Regions from separate parts of the Homo sapiens genome. Here all the other regions are linked to region 4. The links are contacts of gene promoters, found by promoter capture Hi-C in human tissues and cell types (Jung and others, 2019). All regions are on one chromosome and are shown on one strand. The core of a region is centred on a gene start or on the middle of the fragment in contact, and the rest is flanking DNA. Distances in the headings are between cores, read along the strand shown.

Evidence for each region. Contacts are between HindIII fragments. The study calls those that stand out against the background at their distance.
Region 1: a contact is called between a fragment that was not itself captured here and the fragment with the promoter of ERN2 in region 4, in 2 of the 25 tissues and cell types used here (liver and spleen).
Region 2: a fragment that was not itself captured here is called in contact with the fragment with the promoter of ERN2 in region 4 in 2 of the 25 tissues and cell types used here (lymphoblastoid cells and spleen).
Region 3: a contact is called between a fragment that was not itself captured here and the fragment with the promoter of ERN2 in region 4, in 1 of the 25 tissues and cell types used here (dorsolateral prefrontal cortex).

What each region holds. Positions count from the first base shown.
Region 1 is chr16:24,002,319-24,005,018 of GRCh38, reverse strand. The region is part of intron 3 of PRKCB (protein kinase C beta); the gene reads right to left. Among named protein-coding and RNA genes, the nearest start is that of PRKCB, 170 kb to the right of the region's middle. The HindIII fragment of the contact is 9,013 bases long and covers 1-2,700 here.
Region 2 is chr16:24,135,162-24,137,923 of GRCh38, reverse strand. The region is part of intron 9 of PRKCB (protein kinase C beta); the gene reads right to left. Among named protein-coding and RNA genes, the nearest start is that of MIR1273H, 67 kb to the left of the region's middle. RefSeq lists enhancers at 165-700, 701-1,236, 1,773-2,308. The HindIII fragment of the contact is 3,515 bases long and covers 1-2,762 here.
Region 3 is chr16:24,021,903-24,024,881 of GRCh38, reverse strand. All of the region lies in intron 3 of PRKCB (protein kinase C beta), which reads right to left. Among named protein-coding and RNA genes, the nearest start is that of MIR1273H, 180 kb to the left of the region's middle. RefSeq lists an enhancer at 2,009-2,168. The HindIII fragment of the contact is 5,902 bases long and covers 1-2,979 here.
Region 4 is chr16:23,711,767-23,714,512 of GRCh38, reverse strand. ERN2 (endoplasmic reticulum to nucleus signaling 2) reads left to right here and starts at 1,291. Exons shown (of 22, transcript NM_033266.4): 1 at 1,291-1,418. The coding sequence starts at 1,326. The HindIII fragment of the contact is 19,919 bases long and covers 1-2,746 here.

The DNA of each region.
Region 1 (2,700 bases), core at 1-2,500, 290 kb before region 4:
ACTGGCCAGCATTCCACCATATGACTGTAATATATTTTACTTATATAAACTCTAATTGGTAGTGAGACTTGGGTCATTTTCAAATTTTTGATATTATAAATACTGATGCAATGAATATCACTCTAGATAAATCTATGCATTTATCCTGAAATGGTTTCTTACCAAAAATTCCTAGAATTGTCATTCTTAGGTCAAAATGATTAGATTTAGTAATTCTTAGGTCAAAAATGTGTTTAAAGCTCTGGATATGTATGGAAAATTTGCTCTTTAGAAAACATATACTAATTTGCCACTCACCAGTAATGCATTAGAGTTCATGTTTTCTCCTTCCCTGTTTTATGTTTTTGTTTAGTTTTGTTTATTTGAGACAGAATCTCACTCTGTTGCCCAGGCTGGAGTGCAGTGGTGCAATCACAGCTCATTGCAGCCTCCACCTCCCAGGCTTAAGTGATCCTCCCACATCAGCCTCCTGAGTAGCTGGGACTACAGGTGCATGCCACCATGCCTGGCTAATTTTTTCTTTTTTTTTTTTTTTTTTTTGTAGAGACTTGGTTTCGCCATGTTGCCCAGGCTGGTCTCAAACTCCTGAGCTCAAGTGATCTGCTGGGACATCTGCCCCCGTTTATGCTTTTTGTTTTGAGTCCTATTTCTTTTGATATCATTATTAAGACCATGTTTCATTTTTATATATGTATTTTCATGATACACTTTTGTCCCTTTTATTTTTAAAACCTGTGCTTTAAGCATCTTTTATACACTGCCAAGAGTTGTACATTGCTCATCCAATCTCATAGTCTTTGCCTTTCAGTAGAGAATTTCAATCCATTTACATTGGTTGGGTAACATTCTGCTATCACTTCTACCATCTAAATTTATGCTTTCCAGATTCCACGGTTCCTTGCTGGCATATTTTTATCTTTATTCCTATATTTTGTTATATTGATCATAATTTTCTTTGTTGTTTTATCTCTAGATTGTTTCCTCCACATTATTTGAATGCATAATGTCCGTGACAACAATAAAATAGCATTCACTATTTTATTTGGGATATGTTCATCTAGACTCATGTATGAGACTGGCTTGTAGTTTACTTTTTATGCCAACTTTACTAGGTAATAGCGGTTATTGTGGTTAAGCAAGCTTATAATAATTAGTTATTACTTTCATCAGCGCATCAAAGTTTCTCCTTCACTCTTCTTATAACATACACTGCTCCTGGGTGAAAGGGATGCCATGGGATCCAGGTCTGAGGTTATAAGAGTTCGTTCTCCCAGTGATAGAGAACCAACTCCATCAGAACATTTTCTGAGATCAATTATGAATGCAGGGAAGATGGCTGGGTGCAGTCGCTCACGCCTGTAATCCTAGCACTTTGAGAGGCTGAGACAGGGAGATCACTTGAGATCAGGAGTTCGAGACCAGCCTGGCCAATATGCTGAAACCTTATCTCTACTGAAAATACAAAAATTAGCTGAGTATGGTGGTGCACATCTGTAGTCCCAGCTACTTGGGAGGCTGAGGCAGGAGAATTGCTTGAATTCAGGAGGCAGAGGTTGCAGTGAGCTGAGATCGTACCACTGCACTCCAGCCTGGGCAACAGAGCGAGACTTTGTCTCAAAAAAAAAAAAAAAACGAATGCAGGAAGAAGGCTAATTCCTCCACTAGGGTTGCCATCTTTCCATGGGGTCAACTGTAACGATGTTTGCAGACATGTTCCATCTACAGCAGGAGCAAATGAGGCAAGACAAAGCAGATGCATCAGTCAGGGGCCCCGCAGGAAACAGATGGCATACTAAAGTGAAGAGTGTTTAAGAAAGGTTCAATGAAAGGACTGTTTCTAAAGGTGTGGGCATGGTGTTGGGAAAGTATAAGGGATTGGAGGCTAGTAAGAGCCAGAGGACAAAGGAAGGGAGTAGCTCCTGGAACCCAGAAGGAGAGAATTACATAGAGAAGATGATCTGTAGAGGAGCAGCAACCTATAGTCAAAAGGTAGAGTGAAGATGACTCCATAATAAATACTGACTGACTCGGGGAGGGTCTCACTCTCCCCTCCCCAAGTCTCCTATTAGCCCCTCCCCTTGAGTCCAACCAGAGGTCAGGTCAGAGGGTAAGGGAGCCCCAGTTGAAGCAGTCATTATGGCTTAGTCTCTCAGAGAAAGCAGAGTGGATTGGAAGGGCAAACGAGGCATCTGGCACAGCAGATAAGGGTCAGTGTGGTAGACTGCACAATGGCCACCAATGTCTCCCATCCCCGCATGCTCCTTGGCCATGTGACTTTGCTATTCTTCCCATCCAGAGATGAAGTTTGTTTCTCCACCCCAAATCTGATCTTGTCCATAACCACTGTGACACAAACAAAGGCTTAAAAAACACCTATGCTGGCCAGGCGCAGTGGCTCACACCTGTAATCCTAGCACTTTGGGAGGCTGAGGCAGGCAGAACGCTTGAGGTCAGGAGTTCAAAACCAGCTGGCCAACATGGTGAAACCCCGTCTCTACAAAAAATACAAAAATTAGCTAGGCGTGGTGGTGGGTGCCTATAATCCGAGCTACTCAGGAGGCTGAGGCAGGAGAATCACTTGTATCTGGGAGGGTTGCGGTGAGCCGAGATCACACCACTGCACTCCAGCCTGGGTAACAGAAAGAGACTCCATTTCACACACACACACGCACGCACGCACACACACACACGCACGCACAC
Region 2 (2,762 bases), core at 207-2,706, 420 kb before region 4:
AGGTCAGTACATAAGGTGAAACTGTGGGGTGGGGTGGGGGTTTGAAACAACTACGGCATGAATAATCATAGGTACCATCCACATTTGTACATCCAAAATATTTATCATGGGTGTTGGATGATTACAATCCACAAATTTCTGCCATTATGTTTGTTGTATTATAGAAAAGATTATGGGTTATGCTGTTAGTAACCAGGGATTCATTTTACCAGGACTGTAAATTTCTGAAATAATACATAGAGATAAAGTTGAGATGGATATGCAGAGGATGGCAGGTACCATGATAGCACAATAATTGGACCAGTAGCCATGAATGATCACCTGAGACAGAGTTTCCATGTTAATGGGCTCTATCTGGTCCTTCTACAAGAGGACTTGATTTATCTTTGCGATATTTTTCCCAAAGAATCAGGCAACATTTTAGAGAAAACACAGGGCCCAGCGACGTGACTCACACTTGTAATCCCACTGCTTTGGGAGGCTGAGGCAGGAGGATCGCTGGTGGCCAGAAGTTTAAGACCAGCCTGGTCTACATAATGAGATCCCATCTCTAGAAAAAAAACAAAAATGAGCCAGGCACGATGGCATGCACTTGTAGTCCCAGCTAGTCGGGAGGCTGAGGCAGGAGGATCGCTTGAGCCCAGGAGTTCGGGGCTGCAGTGAGCTAAGATCATGCCACTGCACTCCAGCCTAGGCAACAAAGCCAGATGCTGTCTCTAAAAAATTAAAATAAAAGGCCAGGCACAGTGGCTCACACCTGTAATCCCAGCACTTTGGGAGGCCAAGGCAGATGGATCATTTGAGGTCAGGAGTTCAAGACTAGCCTGGCCAACATGGTGAAACCCCGTCTCTACTAAAAATACAAAAAAAAAAAAAAAATTAGCCGGGCATGGTGGCATGCGCATATAATCCCAGCTACTCGGGAAGCTGAGGAAGGAGAATCGCTTGAACCCAGGAGGTGGAGGTTGCAGTGAGCCGAGATCATGCTACTGCAATCCAGCCTGGGCGACAGAGTGAGACTCCATCTCAAAAATAAATAAATAAACAAAATAAAAAAATTAAAATAAAAAATAATACACATTTAAAGGAAACTCCCACTTTGGCCTGTGTGCCAGACAGGCCCGTCGTTTTCTTCTTTCTCATAGGAAAACTGCCCACATCCTATTTGCTTTTCTTGTCATCTTTCCTGATGGATGGTTGGAAAAGTAACCGCTTCCCCGGTCACAGTGAATTGGATCCTAGGGATCCCTGGTCCACACTGGCCCATCAGTTTTTCTTTCCCGGGATTTTAGATTCCTAGGATATTCTACATGTGAGAATTAGACATGGAGACTTGAGAAGCATCAACAAGGCTGAGAGAGGTGGTGCTGATGCGTATCTGCAGAGAGATGTCATCGAGAAGCAGGGATGACAGGCTGGGGGCCCCCCTACAACCCCCCAGATGGAGCCATGGTTATCAGACTGCTGGAAGCTCTCTCATTCAGGTGGCACTTCTTGCCTCTGGGTGTCTTGAGATACACAGAAACAAGCCATGTCTTCTCAGCAAATACCCGCTTTACTCACTCTGGCTTGACAATCTACTTGCAGCAGATGGAAGGTTGTAAAACTTAAATTCCTGACATTTCATTTTCCTTGATATAATTTATTTTCTTGAGAAAAATGAACCTTATCTTGTCTTGTAACATACTACCTTCTGAGAATTGAAGGCAGAGGCTGCGGAAGAGCAGTAAGTCACTTCATTGAGGAGAGACCTGGAAAATTCGGGAAGGTGGAAGAAGGGCCTCACGAGGATCTGGGAAGATGAGTTGGCAAAAAAAAAAAAAAAAACACGCTGCAATCAGAATTGCATATGAAAGAAGGAAAGGTTGAAGGCTTGGTGGGGGCAGGGAAGTGACATAATTGCGATAGAACCAAAGAGAAGGCAGGAATCCAAGATCAGACAGCAAATGTCAAAAAGGTTCTCTGGAAGAGGATTAAGGAAACAGGTAGCAAACACTTTGAGCTATCTGTGAACCATATGATAAAGGAACTCACCATATGGTGCAGGAAGATAGCAAAGCAGGCTGAAGTACAGGGAAGTGCTTTTGTCTGTAGGATTATATAACCACATCTAATGTATGTATGTATATGTCTGTGTGTGAATACATACCACTAATGAGATTAAAATTAGTAGAGACTCCCACAACAGAAGCTCAGACTTTAGAGAAGGCCTTTGTTCCTGGCATGAACTAAGCTGCCTTTTAATCTCCTCAGGCAATTTCTTCCTGTTAAAATCTGGTGCCGGGCTTGGCTCCAGCAGATGATGCTGTGAGGCCAGGTGTGGTGGCTCAAGCCTGTAATCCCATCACTTTGGGAGGCTGAGGCAGGCGGATCACTTGAGGCCAGGAGTTCGAGACCAGCCTGGCCAACATGGTGAAACCCTGTCTCTATTAAAAACATAAAAATTACTTGGGCGTGGTGGCAGGCGTTTGTAATCCCAGCCACTCGGGAGGCTGAGGCAGGAGAATTGCTTGAACCTGGGAGGTGCAGTGACTCAAGATCACCCCACTGCACTCCAGCCTGGGCAACAGAGCAAGACTCTGTCTCAAAAAGGAAAAAAAAAAAAAAAAAAAAGGGACACTGAGGTCTGGGGCCTGGAACTCTGGAATGCTCTCTCATGCTCACAGAGCATGGTAGTTAAGCACCCTGGCCTTTGGGAAGAAAAGTTTGGAGGCTGCAGAGGGAGGTGCTATTGAGATGCTGGAGCTGGAACATAGGGCTGA
Region 3 (2,979 bases), core at 363-2,862, 310 kb before region 4:
ATGACTCCCTCCACGACCCTCAAGGTGCATCTTTCAGGGTACCTTTCCATGCCTGCCTGAGCCCAATGCCATCTCTGAGATGGGCACCTCCCAAAAGCCATGCTTGTACTTTGAGACATCCACATTCCCTGAACACAGCTGACTGGGGCAGAGGTGGACACTTGGCTCAAGGGTCACATATGCTGAGTGGCTGGGACACAGGTAATCAGTCCTGAGGCCAGCAGACATACAGTTCCAGGGCTGAGGCTGCTAATTTTATATTTGATTGACAAATTATAATTGTATGCATTTATGGGGTACAATGTGATTGTTCTGATTGTTCTGAATATACACACACAATGTGGCATGATTAAATCAAGAAAATTAACATATCCATCACCTAACTTGCCTATCATTTTCTTAGCTTGAGATATTTGAAATTTACTCTCTTAATTACTTTGAAACATACATATTATTGACTAATGTCACCCTGCTGTGCAATAGATCTCAAAGGCAATTCCTCCTATCCGAAACATTGTACTCTTTGCTCAGCAACTCTCCATTTCTTCCCTACTCCTGCCTCCTGCTGTCCCCCAGCTTCTGGTAACCATCATTCTACTCTCTACTTCTGTGAGTTCAACTTCATTAGATTCCACATCTAAGTGAGATCATGCAGTATTTGTCTTTCTGTGCCTGGCTTATTTCACTTAGCATAATGTCCTCCAGGTTCATCCACATTGTAGCAAATGACAGTTGGTGCTGATTTTTATGGTGCGCTCTGAGGAACCTGGAGAAACAAAGACAAAGACTACATGACCCCAGGGATGAAGCTCCTGGTTCTGGTCCCTGGGGTTCTGGCATCCTGCCTTCCAATTCCATCTGCCTCCCTGTGTCCTCTAAAATTTGTCCTTTGTGCTTCAGCCAATCCAGGTAGGCATGTTACCTACAACCAGGGGTGAGTCAAGATATCTATAATTGCCTTGGCTCAGGGACTGCCCACAGACCAAACGGAATGGACAGCAGAGCCTGGCTGTGCTGGGAGTTAGCACTCTAGTCACCACGTCATGGAGGGGGTGTGGTAGGAGCTGGCAGAGGCAGATATGGGTAAGTGGAAGGTTGGGGGAAAAGGCCCAGAGGACCCAGTGGCTATTTACCCATCGGTTTCAGAGTATTTCAATATTTCCACCACTGGTACAGTAGTGCCAGGGCATGCAGGTTAAATATCAGTCCTGCCTGGCCGGGTGCGGTGGCTCACGTCTGTAATCCCAGCACTTTGGGAGGCCGAGGCTGGCGGATCACGAGGTCAGGAGATCAAGACCATCCTGGCTAACACGGTGAAACCCCGTCTCTACTAAAAATACAAAAAATTAGCCGGGCGTGGTGGCGGGCGCCTGTAGTCCCAGCTATTCAGGAGGCTGAGGCAGGAGAATGGTGTGAACCTGGGAGGCAGAGCTTGCAGTGAGCCGAGATCCCGCCACTGCACTCCAGCCTGGGTGACAGAGCGAGACTCCGTCTCAAAATAAATAAATAAGTATCAGTCCTGCCTTTAACCAAAATACATTCCCTTCCTAGCCTTGATGCTGTGGGTATTGACCAAGCCTGAGATGAGTCTGGGAATCCTCATGGCCTGTAAGCCATCACTCCCTCTATGGGGTTTGGTTCTGATCGCATTCAAAGATGCAGCTTCCTGGCTGGGAGCAGTGGCTCATGCCTGTAATCCCAGCCAAGGTGGGAAGATCGCTTGAGCCCAGGAATTCAAGGCTGCAGTGAGCCATGATGGCACCACTGCACTCCAGTGACAGAGAGAAACTCTGACTCAAAAACAAAAAAAAAGACACAGCTTCCATCTCTGCCTCAATCCCTCCCCTAGTCTCATTTTACATCAGATCCTCGTCACCCAGGCCACACTGACTAGACACCTCCAGGCCACCTAGAGCCTGTCCCATCCCTGGCCTGGGCCCTCCTTCATGCCCAGGGGCCACAGTGTGGAACCCAGAAGCTATATCAAGCCTGTAAAGAAGCTACCGTTGGCCAACAAGGTGCTTCTTAGAAATCCAAATAAGTTTACTATATTTAAGTCAGGAACTATCAGATTAAAATGTGAAATTTTGGCCAGGCACAGTGGCTCACGCCTGTAATCCCAGCACTTTGGGAGTCCGAGGCAGGCGGATCACGAGGTCAGGAGATCGAGACCATCCTGGCTAACACGGTGAAACCCTGTCTCTACTAAAAATACAAAAAGAATTAGCCGGGCGTGGCGGCATGCACCTCTAGTCCCAGCTACTCAGGAGGCTGAGGCAGGATAATGGCATGAACCCGGGAGGCGGAGCTTGCAGTGAGCTGAGATCGCACCACTGCACTCCAGCCTGGGCAACAGAGCGAGACTCTGTCTCAAACAAAAAAAAGAAAGAAAGAAAGAATAAAAAATGTGAAATATTGCTTCCTTTTGAGAAATCATCAGCTGTGACAACACAGAACACTCATTTCTGTGGGCTGAGCAGTGGTTTTCCCCTTTAGATAAGTAATAAACTTTCTAGTTTTCCACAGTCCCCACTCTTCCCTATTGTCTTACACCAGGCCTGCTTCTCTCTTTCCCCTTTCCTGCCTGGACCCTGTAGGAATTTGGATTTGGGACCTCTGCCAGACTCCCTACCTTCTTCCCAACAGTGCTGGAATCCAACCCCATGTGAACACATCCCCTAAACTCCCGAGTGAGTTTGTCTGACTCAGTCTCAAGTGCTCTCAAAAACAGGTTTGAAACTATTACACTCCTGCCGCAGCATCACCCCTTGATCATCCCCAGTCATCTCGCCCACCCCTGGAAATCAGGTTTCCACAGGATCCTGGCACGATTCCTCTTCCCAGTATTTCCTGTTGCTGAGGCTCCATCTCCACATGCCTGGTATTAGGCAAGCTTGGATTCCCAAATTTCCTTCCATTTCCAATCTTTATTCAAGAGATTGTTGAATACAACAACAAAATAACCGTCGAATGTGACTT
Region 4 (2,746 bases), core at 42-2,541:
TTTTTTTTTTTTTATTTTTACACAAGGATGAAGGAGACATGAATGAGTTGAAACTTGCAAACAGGGTGGACCTTACCTTCAAGGACCCTGGCAGACCCTCTCTGAACAAAACTGGAGACATCTACCAGGAGCAAGGGTGGTCACGGCCATTAGAAGGTGCCCTTCCATGCGGAGTTGTCTTACATCTAAGGCATAGGAATCTCTAAGCTCTACGAAGACAGGGACCTCATCATCTTGTTCATCAGGCAGGCATGTCATAGCTTATAATAAATGCATATTTATTGGCTGGGCGCGGTGGCTTATGCCTGTAATCCCAGCACTTTGGGAGGACGAGGTGAGCGGATCAACTGAGGTCAGGAGTTTGAGACCAGCCTGGCCAAAGTGGTGAAGCCCCATCTCTACTAAAAATACAGAAATTAGCTGGGCATGTTGGCCCACATTTTTAATCCCAGCTACTCGGGAGGAGGATTGCTTGGACCCAGGATGCAAAGGTTGCAGTTAGCCAAGATAGTGCCATTGCACTCCAGCCTGGGTGACAAGATCGACTCTGTCTCAAAAAATAAATACATGCATATTTATTTATTTATTTTATTTTTGGAGAGTGTGTCTCTCTCTGTCGCCCAGGCTGGAGTGCAATGGCACAGTTATAGCTCACTGCAGCCTTGACTTCCTGGCTCAAGCAATCCTCCCACCTCAGCCTCGCGAGTAGCTGGAACTACAGGTGGACATCACCACACCTGGCCATTTTTTTTTGTAGAGATGGGGTCTCACTATGTTGCTGGTCTCCAACTCCTGGTTTCAAGTGATCCTCCCTCCTAGGCCTCCCAAAGTGCTGGGATTACAGAGGTGAGCCACTTACCTGACCCATAATAAATATTTATTGAACGAACGACTGAATTCACCAATTAATCGCTATTTCCTGATAGCCCACCGGGATCCGCTGGTGCAATGATAAAGAGCGCAGGCTTTGAGATCAGGCGGATCTGTATTGGGACTGCGGCTCTCAGCCTCCGCTTGTACCTGCTGTGCAGTGAGGACTCCAGGAACTGATGATGAACCGGCACGGTCCTCGGCACGTGGCAAGTTCTCCATAAGTGGGCTCAGTAAAATCCCTCTCCCGGGAAAGCGCCCCACCGTGTTTGGTGGGGTGACTGGGACGCGAGGATGCGGCTGGGAGTGTGATGAGAAGGGCGGGGATCGGCGAGGACTCCAGGCTGGGGTTGCAGGCCCAGCCAGGGGCGGAGCCTTCTCCGGGTCGGGCGGGGACAGAGCGCTCCCTTGGAGGCACCCAGGGACCTGGCCAGCCGTGCAGCTGCCCAGGCGCTATGGCGAGTGCGGTCAGGGGGTCGAGGCCGTGGCCCCGGCTGGGGCTCCAGCTCCAGTTCGCGGCGCTGCTGCTCGGGACGCTGAGTCCACAGGTGAGAGCCAGGGACCGACGCCAAGTCCCCAAAGTCTGGTCGCGGGGCGCAGGGGGCGGCGTCGCACTTGGGGCGAGGGCGCGGCGGGGCCACGGGGGCACCTCTCCCTCCCTCACGCCTGGGTGGTCCCAACTCGGCCCCAACGGAGTAAAAGCCTCCTGGGTTTGGGGAGCCGCCAGTTGCCCCCAACAAATACCTAGCTGGGGAGATCTGCCAGCGTGGAAAGGCAAGAGTAGACAGAGCACCCCGCCTCTTCAGCAGGGAGAGGTGTAGTCTGGGGTAGGGGGGCACCTGGGCACGAAAGCCAGGCCTCTTAAAACTTCTGGGAATCCTGGCTTCCTTTGAAAATATGATTGACTTCAGGGCCCTCTGCTGAGAAATGAGCCTGCACGCCCAGTTTTGCAATTTCAGAGGCTTTACAATACGGTCCCCTTACCCATGGCTGCACCCCAGGTTCAGAACCTATGGGATAAATGAGCTGGGAGTGTCAGTATCTGCTCCCACGGTGCCAGGAATAGCAGAGTCTTACAGAAATGCAGCCAGGAGGCAAAAGTCGCCTGGCCTAAGAATCCAGGTGTCCCGCCTAGAACCCCCATGGGGCAAAAGCGATCAGGTAGAGTTAGGCACCTCTCATTCCCGGCTTCCACCTCATGGGTCCACCTCATGGTTGCCAGCTAAGAATGCAAGCCCAGTGTGGCCAGATCGGATGTCTCTGGAAAAATTAGAAATGAGAAAGATTTGAAATCTTGGTTTTTTTGTAGAAATCATCCAATTTTTAAAAAAATTGGCAGCTAATTGAAAAATTTTTAAGCACTAGATGGTCAAACAAAATTCATTTCTGGGCAACCAATCTGCAGCCTCTTCTCCAAACCGTTCTCCCTCCTGCCATGCTGCAGATGACAAAATTGAAGCCCAGAAAGAAAGAGGGGCTAGCAGATAATTTCCTGACCCTCCACTCAACACCAGTGGCCCAGCCCCAAACCTGAGGGTCCTGAAGCAGGATGTGGCCTTTGTAGGGGTGCGGCTGGGCCACCCGGATGTTAGGCCTCCTGCTGGGAGCTCAGCCTCACCCTGTTTGCTCAAGGAGGGACTGGAGCAGGTGAGTGAGCCCAGGATCGCCAGATGTAAGTACGGGTGGCTCCAGCCCCCCTCCCAAGGGCACCCCCCAGCCTTGGGTCAAGGGACCCACTGGAGCCTGGCACCAAAACCAGCTGGGCTGGTTTGGGGAGGCAGAAAGGGGCATCCCAAAAGAGGTAGACATTGTGGCAGAGGAAAAAGAGGCCAGGCATAGGAATCAGAGGGATGGCAACTCAAGTCCTTAGTTTTGC